Regions from separate parts of the Homo sapiens genome. Here region 1 is linked to region 2. Evidence: promoter capture Hi-C in 16 types of primary human blood cells and fetal thymus (Javierre and others, 2016). All regions are on one chromosome and are shown on one strand. Each heading gives the region's core, a stretch centred on a gene start or on the middle of the fragment in contact. The rest is flanking DNA. Distances are from core to core; before and after follow the strand shown. Region 1 overlaps AP4S1 (adaptor related protein complex 4 subunit sigma 1). Region 2 holds the start of AP4S1 (adaptor related protein complex 4 subunit sigma 1).

The links. Contacts are between HindIII fragments. The CHiCAGO score rates a contact against its expected background, and 5 or more counts as called.
Region 1: a fragment that was not itself captured here is called in contact with the fragment with the promoter of AP4S1 in region 2 in 5 of 17 cell types (erythroblasts, M2 macrophages, M1 macrophages and 2 more); the score reaches 11.1 in erythroblasts.

What each region holds. Positions count from the first base shown.
Region 1 is chr14:31,076,466-31,081,185 of GRCh38, reverse strand. It overlaps AP4S1 (adaptor related protein complex 4 subunit sigma 1), which reads right to left. Exons shown (of 6, transcript NM_001128126.3): 5 at 602-613. Among named protein-coding and RNA genes, the nearest start is that of STRN3, 52 kb to the right of the region's middle. The HindIII fragment of the contact is 5,137 bases long and covers 1-3,880 here.
Region 2 is chr14:31,021,857-31,026,898 of GRCh38, reverse strand. It overlaps AP4S1 (adaptor related protein complex 4 subunit sigma 1), which reads right to left and starts at 1,250. Exons shown (of 6, transcript NM_001128126.3): 1 at 1,112-1,250. STRN3 (striatin 3) reads left to right here and starts at 520. Exons shown (of 18, transcript NM_001083893.2): 1 at 520-995. The coding sequence starts at 714. RefSeq lists enhancers at 22-181, 1,292-1,401, 1,472-1,571 and silencers at 312-631, 722-981, 1,121-1,302. The HindIII fragment of the contact is 24,948 bases long and covers 1,186-5,042 here.

The DNA.
Region 1 (4,720 bases), core at 63-2,562, 54 kb before region 2:
ATATGCTTAAAGGAAATTAAATTAATAAATAGTAGCTATTAACTACTATGATAGCGCTATCCTGCCTGGAAAAAAAAAATCTTAAGAATCATCTTGCCAGGCGCAGTGGTTCACGCCTGTAATCCCAGCACTTTGGGAGGCCGAGGTGGGTGGATCACCTGAGGCCAGGAGTTCAAGACCAGCCTGGCCAACATGGTGAAACCCCGTGTCTACTAAAAATACAAACATTAGCTGGGCGTGGTGGTGGGCGCCCGTAATGCCTCAGGAGGCTGAGGCAGGAGAATACTTGAACCCAAAAGGCAGAGGTTGCAGTGAGGTGGAAATTGCAGTGAGCAGAGATTACACCATTGCACTCCAGCCTGGGCAAGAAGAGCGAAACTCCATCTTAAAAAGAAAAAAAAAGAATCGCCTTGTTGAAGCAGGGTGACGAAGTTGGGGAGGAGTTCTGCAGAACACACACACCTCTGGCTGTCTTGTCATAGTTGTTGGTGATGAACACTCTGGACTCTGCTGAATAGTTTTCCTGCCTTGTGGTACTTACCTGATAAGGACCAGAGTGCATTTGCCAAGTACTGTGGAAAACAGTATTGAAAAAGGATACATCTAATTCACTCTGGAAGACAGAAAAAGAGTGCAAGGGTTAGAAAAAAGACACTGGGGACCACTGCTCTTAGCAGAGTCAGACTGAAGAGGCTTCTGCGTCCATAGCAGCGGCCTCTCCTACCTGCTTCTGGGCTTGGTGGCCACAGCAGTCTGACTCTGCCAAGGCCCTAAGTTTGGGACTATAATTTTTTTAAATATAGGCTGTAGTTCAAAGGAATTTTACAGGCCAGCACGATTCATCTTTAGAAAGCAGAGGGAAAAAGAAACTAACTCAGCCTTTACAGATGTAGGTAATTTGATATGTGTATCAGAGATCTTAACAATGTGCCACACCCTTTGAATCCACTGACGTTACTTCTAGTAGTTTATCCTAAGGAAAAAATTAGACAATGGCACAATGATATATGACAGGATATTCAGGGTAATGGTGTTTGTAATAGCAAATTATGGATAATAACCTAAATATCTATCAAGGAGGGGAACAAATTAAGTAAACCGTAGCATATCCACAAATGATGATGTAGACATATAAGTACTCACATATTGTTAAAAAAAGTTACAAAATGTATACATAGTATTATCCTATGTATGTATGTATAAAGGTCAAAGTATATGTGGTTATACAGCTACAGACAGACATAGAAAGTCTAAAAGGAAATGTACCTAACAGCAGTTATCAGTAACTGATGGGCTTACTGATGATCTTCTTCTCACTTAAAAAAATCTATTTTATTTATTTATTTCAAGAAAGTATTTATTTATTTGGAGTCAGTCTGTCGCCCAGGCTGGAGTGCAGTGGCATGATCTTGGTTCATTACAACCTCCACTTCCTGGGTTCAAGCGATCCTCCCACCTCTGCCTCCCAAGTAGCTGGGACTAGAGGTGTGAGCCACCACACCTGGCTAATTTTTGTATTTTTTGTAGAGACGGGGGTTTTGCCATGTTGCCCAGACTGGTCTTGAACTCCTGAGCTCAAGCAATCCACCTGCCTCAGCCTCCCTAAGTGCTGGGATTACAGGTGTGAGTCATCATACCTGGCCAAAAAATACATTACTTTTTAAAGAGCAGTTTTAGGTTCACAGCAATATTGAGGGGAAGGTACAGCCTTCCCTCCGAATGTGCAGCCTCCGAATGTGCAGCCGTGTCCCTCCGAATGTGCAGCCTCCTCCCATGATCAGCATTCCCCACCTACATCATTCTCACCCAAATTCCACAGTTTACATTCGGGTTCACTCTACTGTTGTACATTCCATGGGTTTAGACAAATGCATAACTACATGTATTCGCTTTCCTCTTTCTCTTTGCTTATATGTTTTAAAATTTTGTAAATAAAATAGATATTTATGCAGTGAAAAAAGTATGGAGGAAGAAAAAAGCAAAGAGAATTAAGTTCAAATATGAAAGGACTTAAGGGTTGTCAAATGCAGCACTGAAAATCCCCTGATACCACTTCTTCAACAGCAACAACCCTCACCTCTGGCAAAGCTGCCTTCTTTGAAGCTAACTGGGTTGGTTTTTTGTTTTAAAAATGTGATGCTGAGATGCTTCTCTCAGCCCCAGACAGCATGAGACTGATCTCCAAATTTAAGATTTGGAAATTCTTGAAGATTAAAAATAGCCACAGAAAGAATGTTTAAAATTCACAAACCTAAAAATAAATCTTACATGACAAGGCCGTCTCTGTGAGGGGGACAGATCCTATTTTCTTTCCCATAGTGCTCTTTTCCCTCTTCCTCTTCTTCTTTTTGCTATGGTTTGATCCTAAGCCAAGTCATCCCTTAGTACCTACCGTCCAAGTCCTGCATAATCACCTGGCTGAAATTAAATTCTAATCTTTACTTTCGTGGTTTATGTGGTCACTGACTCTCCCTAAAATTATACCTATAATTCAGCAATATGCTATTTATTCTCAGTTACTGAATATAATAATAATAATTTTTAAAACCTTAGCAATGATAGTACTTGTACCCACTTTTTATTCTCCTAGGTTTAGAACATTATTATTTTGGGAAATTATATTCTTCTTGGTGGGTGTCACCTTGAAATGGCTAATCATGGTCAGCTCTGATCATAGACCCTGACTTGCAACTAGTCTGTCTAAACAAGAGAGTGGTCATCACAAGGTAAGCAGAAGCTAGAGCTATACTGTCCAATACAGTAAACACCAACCTCATGTGGAGATTTAAATTAAGTAAAATTAAAACTTTATTTCCTCAGTTATACTAACTGCATTTCAAGTGCTCAAGAGCCACATCTGGCTAATGCCTACTGTATTGGATGGCACAGGTACAGAACATTCCTATCTCTGCAGAAAGTTTTACTGAACAGTGCTGGTCTATGGTGCTCTTGCCAAGCAATCAACACAGAGATAGATTTTAAAGCCAGTCTCCATGTCCTCTGTCCCCAAGGCCAGTCTCTGGAATGACCACCTCTTGGTATCTTTCAGCTTTGGAACGCACCAACCCCTTCCTGGCTAGATGCATTTCCACATCACAGACCACAAGGCACGTTCCCAACACCAACTCTTGAATCAAGAAAAGGCTGATAAAGGCCGGGCACGGTGGCTCACGCCTGTAATCCCAGCACTTTAGGAGGCCAAGGCAGGTGGATCAAGAGGTCAGGAAATCGAGACCATCCTGGCCAATATGGTGAAACCCTAACTCTACTAAAAATACAACAATTAGCTGGGTGTGGTGGCACGTGCCTGTCATCCCAGCTACTCGGGAGGTTGAGGTGGGAGAATTGCTTGAACAAGGGAGTCAGAGGTTGCAGTGAGCCGAGATCGCGCCACTGCACTCCAGCCTGGCGACAGAGCGAGACTCCATCTCAAAAAAAAAAAAAAAGAAAAAAGAAAAAAAACAAAAATGGCTGACAGCAAGCCTCATGCACTAAGGCAATGATTACCAAAATTAAGCATGTACCAGAAACCAGAATCACCTGGAATCACCTGGAAGTCATCTTAAAACAGATTTCTGGGCCTTGACCTACAGCTTCTGATGCAATGGTCTGGGATGGGGCCCAGAATTTGTCTGTCTAACAAGTTCTCAACCTATGCTAATGGTCCAGGAATCAGACTTTGAGAACTGCTGCACTAAGACAATGAAGACAGGCTAGCTGACTGTCCCATGAAGAAGGAGTTTGCCAAACCTCACTTCTGGCATTAGGAGGTGGGCTGAAGACCTAACTTCCTAATTGGACTTTTGCCCTTTCCGGGTTTTAGTGCACACAATATTACTAATTATGGAGCACATTCTGCTCACTGCCTCAGGAAGAAGCTTGGAAAAATTCCTTGTTTTTATTTAAATGCGAAATGAAAAAAAACAACTTTAAAAAATAAGCTTGTGCTGGCTGGGTGTGGTGGCTCACGCCTGTAATCCCAGCACTTTGGGAGGCTGAGGCGGGCGGATCACCTGAGGTTGGGAGTTCGAGACGAGCCTGACCAACATGGAAAAAGTAGAAACCCTGTCTCTACTAATAATACAAAAATTAGCCAGGCGTGGTGGCGCATGCCTGTAATCCCAGCTACTTGGGGGGCTGAGGCATGAGAATCGCTTGAACCCGGGACGGAGGTTGCAGTGAGCCGAGATCACGCCATTGCACTCCAACCTGGGCAACAAGAGCAAAACTCCGTCTCAAAAAAAATAAAAATAAAAAGATAAGCTTGTGCCGCTGCTACTTCTCAAGAATGTCTAACTAAAGCTCAGGAAGGCCTATGGTACCAAAGTAAAACATCTTTACTGATTCTTTTTTAAAAGACTGGTGAGTTTCGAACTTGATACAAAGCTACAGAAATCAAAAGAGTGTGCTACTGATGTAAGGCTAGACACAGAGATCAATGGAACAAAAGTGAGAGGCCAGAAATAAACACTTACATTTATGGCCAATTGATTTACTGATAAGGGGGCCAAGACAATTCATTGGGGGAAAAGAACAGTCTTTTGAACAAATGATGTTGGAACAATTGAACATCTACAAAGGAATGGGAGAAAATATTTTCAAATCATATATCTGATAAGGGACTTGTATTCAGAATATATAAAGAACTCCTGCAACTCAACAATAAGATAACAAATAATGCAATGTAAAAATGGGCAAAGGATTTGAGCAGACATTTCTC
Region 2 (5,042 bases), core at 1-2,500:
GGGCCCACCCTTGGGACTGCCTGAAACACTCAAAGAATGAAAAAGAAACGTCAGGAATCCGAGACGGGATGCGGTCGGCCAGAGCGACCAGCCAGGTTAACAACCAGCTCAGAAAGCCGGGACACGGGTGAGAGACCCCTGGGAAGGAAACAGCGCCCGGGGACGGCCTGCTAAAAGGAAACTGATAACCAGGAAGCCTAAGGCCGCCTCGCTTCCAAAAGTCAGAGTCGGAGCCCAGGTGTCCGGTAGCTGCGGCCAGACACCGGATCGGGTCTGAGGGCGGGCCTAGGGGCGGAGCCCGAGCTCTTTCCCCGCCCTCTAACGGCGACCCGGGCTGCGTTCTCAGTGCGCCGGCGTAGGGTGAGGCCGGACTCTATTTGGCGATTAAGCGTGAGGCTGCGTTCGCTACCCAGCATGCTGTGCGCTAGTGACGGCCCTCCGCCTATCCCCTTCCCAACTCTCCCCCCACCCCTCCCGCCGAGGCCCCCCCTTCCCCTAAAGTGAGTGAGTGAGACGGGCAGATGGAGGAGGGATTGTAATGGCGGCAGCCGGCAGCTCCCTGCTCTGACCCACGGCAGGCACACAGCAACGACCCCTTCCCCGCCCCTCTCCCGGCCGGCCTCCGCCCCGCAGCCAGCGCGGGGCCACCCTCTCCGGCCCTTCCCCCAGCTGTCGGCGTCTCGCCCTGCGCCCCGGCCGGGGCCCCACACACAATGGACGAGCTTGCCGGAGGCGGTGGTGGCGGCCCGGGGATGGCGGCCCCTCCCCGGCAGCAGCAGGGACCTGGGGGGAACCTGGGCCTTTCGCCCGGGGGGAACGGAGCGGCGGGCGGCGGGGGTCCTCCGGCCTCCGAGGGAGCGGGTCCCGCGGCAGGCCCCGAGCTGTCCCGGCCGCAGCAGTACACTATCCCGGGGATACTGCACTACATCCAGCACGAGTGGGCTCGGTTCGAGATGGAGCGGGCGCACTGGGAGGTGGAACGGGCCGAACTGCAGGTACCTCGTTGGGGTCGGTGTGCGGGAGCTGCGGCGGCTGGGTTCCCGGCCGGGGGGTGGGGCTGGGGACTCCACTCAGCCGGAGCCGGCGCCTTGGGAGGCCGAGCGGAACCTACCTGTGCTGCTCAGGTTGTGATGGTCCTCTCAACGGCTTTTCCTGGAGTCCCCCTCCCTCTTTCCCGCATAAGCTTGCTCCCCAACCTTCACTGGCTACGCGGTGCGGGCCTCCTCGGGGCAGCCATTTTGGCTTTTAGTATGGCGTCTGCGGGGGCTCCTCCGGAGGCGGCCTTCCCGGGCCTCCGGGGCTTGGGACCGAGCACCTCTCTGTGGGAGAGTCCGGTTTGGGGCCTCTCAACACTGAGTTTGCTCTTGTTTGTTCCTCTTGAGATGAAGAGCCCGAAGAGAGGGACTAGGATAGGCATCTTACCCCCCTTTTCCGGACCACCCCCCTTTCCGATTTGGCGTATCTGGCCCCCTCCCTCAGACTTGGTACGCGCTTGCCCCTTGACAGCCACGCTTCTTTCCTGGGCTGCTAGGGTGCACAGTGACTTGGGACTGACCTGTGAAGTTTTATTTCCCATCGTCAACTTTAAGTACTTTCTCACCTGAGATGCTGCCTTACTCACTTGGATTCTCTGTAGTTATTCCTTACTTAGTGACTCATCAACGCTTTCAGCACTGAATTTTTCTTTTTACAGTACTCTCCACTAGATCTCCTTTCCCCCATCCGTTTCTTTATCTATAAAAAAACCAAACCAGACGATCGATGCTGTATTTATGAAACGACTGAAGAGATTTAATATTCCCTTGAAGTGAAACGTAGTTATATCATGTTACTTACTCTTGCAGGAGAAGCAAAGTGAGATGTTCTCGGAACCCTTCATAGTTGAGCTTGACTCGATCCTCATAATGTGAACCTTTGATAGGCTGCACATTTGGAAGCTGTTGGTAGTTAACAGCTCATGTCCTGGATCTCAAAATTGCTGCATCTTTTTGAAAGGGTTATTTAACTTTCTTGGGTATTTGTGTTTATTTTTAAATACCTTTCCAGGGCAAATTTAGGCTTAGAAGGAAAAAGCGTGTGTCTAAATAGTATTGCACCTGTTCTTCAGACTGTTGTGTATTTAGGGGGTAAGCAGTATTTGCTGTCATATATGTCATATGCCTATGGTGAATCGTTAGGCAAATGTAGTGCTGAAAGGAGGAGGATTGGATTAACTAGAAAGGGTGTCCTCAAATATGCATCTCTTTAGTTTGGTTCTGAACTAGTAAACTTTTATATGACTCCACAAAGTGGGTGAAGTTAAACTTTTCAAAAGTAAAAAATACTTGGGTATTTTGACACTGTATGAAGTCTTAAAAAAAAGTAACACTTGTTAGTCATTTCAGTGCTTTACAATTGTGTTTTGATATAATATTGGGCTTTAAAATTACATAACTTTAAAAAAGCTGAAGTCAAAACTGGTTTAAGTTGTGTACAGTCTGCTTTAACATACTTAAAATTTATAGAATTCTGTTGGTATACAGCTTTCTACTACATACTGCAAACTTAATTTTCTGTGTGAGTAAAGTAAGTAAGGCATTTGTTTTTAAAATTTGGATTGACAAATGCAGTAAGGCCTAAGCTCACTAAATAATACTTCACCAGTCCCTGCTATGGTTTCTTAGACCTTTGTACTGTTGTATGCAAGTTTGGATTTCAACACTCTTCAAGTTAGCAATTGCATTTTTCACCCATAAACTTCACTAATGTAAGCAGCTGAGAAGAAAGATATCTTGTGCCCAAATTAGTAAAACCTATACTATATATTAAAGAAGCCTTTATTGCCTGCTCTAGCATTTGCTTTCCCTTCTAGGTCTCCTTAACAGCAGCAGCAGTGTTTTAAGGTAGATTCCTTTTGCTTGCTTGCTTGCTTTCAATTCTATTGGTACAGTACTGTTATTAGCCATCCTAAGTTTTTGTTTGTTTCCTTGTTTTGAAGAAGTCCTACAGTGTTTCTAGACTCTTTTTTATTTCATACTGATTCTTTTGGAATAAAATGTTCATGATGGCGTTGGTTTTTTTTTTTTTGAGTTATATATTTAAAATGTTTTATTGGGTTAACTTAATAAGGTTTCTAGTTTGCTTTAGGTGCCTTCAGTCTACTGAGATTGCTTGTGAGATGCGTATTTTAAAATGTATGTGTTGAATACATATTTGTGGGAGGGTGTAGTGAAGCATCAGTGGATTTTTACTGTAAACTTAAACCTATTTTTAAGAAAGACAATCTAGAAATAAGACAACTTACATATTATTATGTACAGTCTCCAGTGCACTGTCATGTACACAGATTTTTAAAGTGTTAATTATTGAATAGTTTCAATAGAGAACGTGAAGAGCTTAAGGAATACCCCATATTGATGTAAAATTTTAATGGGGAATAATATTTTCCCTGGCTTTGGGAAAGATATTAAAAGGAACTTTACAGTATGATTCTGTTCTCTGTAAAAAGAATTTAGAGTAAAGGTCTGTCTTAGAAACTTGGAACCAAACTAAAGGATCACATCTTAAAGCTCTTCTGTCTCTGATTCTTCCTTACCTTAGACTCAGGTAAAGCATTGTTAGTAAGGTCATAGGACAGTGGTTTCTTAACTTTTATATAACATGAATTACCAAAATTCCACAGACAGTCCATTTTCTTCAAGCCCTAGATCAATCCAGATCTCCAGAGGATAAGAGGCCTGCATATTTTTTAGAGTTCTACAAGTGATTCTTTCTTCACAGTAGTGCCTGTTAAAGAGAAAAATTACTACACTACACTTTTCTTTTTTGTAATTTCATAGTAGATTCATTAAAATCTTGTCATGGAAAAGACACTAGGATTTGCAAATTACTATTCCAGACCAGCTTTTGAAAACCCTGAAAATGGAAAATTCAGGAGATTCCCCCCTTAAAAATGAAGAAATCAAGTAAGTCTAAGCAAAATATCTCCTACTAACTTAAGGATCTTTAAGCAGCAACATCTATCATGTTACGACTTCTAAAAGTTAGAAACTGCCATTTAATCAGCACTATAACCTCATGAGGTGAGTATTCCTGTTTTACAGGTGAGGAGACAAATTTAGGTAGGTTAAATCATTTTGCCAAGGTCACCTAGCCATAAAGTATTGCAGCTGAGATTTGAACCCAAGTCTGTCTGATTCCAAAGCCTGTAGTCATGTTACCACTCTTGTAACCATTATGTTATACTGTCTTAGCTCTTTTTTATAGAGTGGAATCTGACTTGTAATTCTTCATCTAGTATTGCGTGGCCCACACCACTTGAGTACATTTCAATAAAGTTTTATTGAGCGCCTGTGATGCTGCTGCAAGGCATAGTTTATATATATTGCTAATGTGTCCTTATATTTTTCTTTATAGTTTGTATGTAGTAAGTGGATTTTGGGTATATACAAAATGCTTGTTTGCCAAGTGTAAAAATATGACATAGCTAATACAAGAAAATGTAGTCAAAGAGTTTATGTTCTTTTTTTTTTTTTTTGAGATGGAGTCTCGCTCTACTGTCGCCCAGGCTGGAGTGCAGTGGCACCATCTTGGCTCACTGCAAGCTCTGCCTCCCAGGTTCACGGCATTCTCCTGCCTCAGCCTCCCCAGTAGCTGGGACTACAGGTGCCTGCCACCACGCCCAGCTAATTTTTTTGTATTTTTAGTAGAAATGGGGTTTCACCGTGTTAGCCAGGATGGTCTTGATCTCCTGACCTCGTGATCTGCACACCTTGGCCTCCCAAAGTGCTGGGATTACAGGCGTGAACCACCGCGCCCGGCCGACAGTGATTTTTCATAAAGGTGTTCCCTTTGTTCTGGGATTTTTAGCCTTCATACATTTTTACTGTTAGGCATTTCCTTTTTCAGATGATGGTGATAATAGTTAAAAAAATTTTATTGATAGTATTAAGGGAGTCCACTACCTTGTGTCAGATTCCCTGTTTCTTTTTGAAGCCCTTGAAATGAAGTTTAGGGACCACTGATCTAGAATTCTCTTTATGCTCCTCCACTACCCATTAACC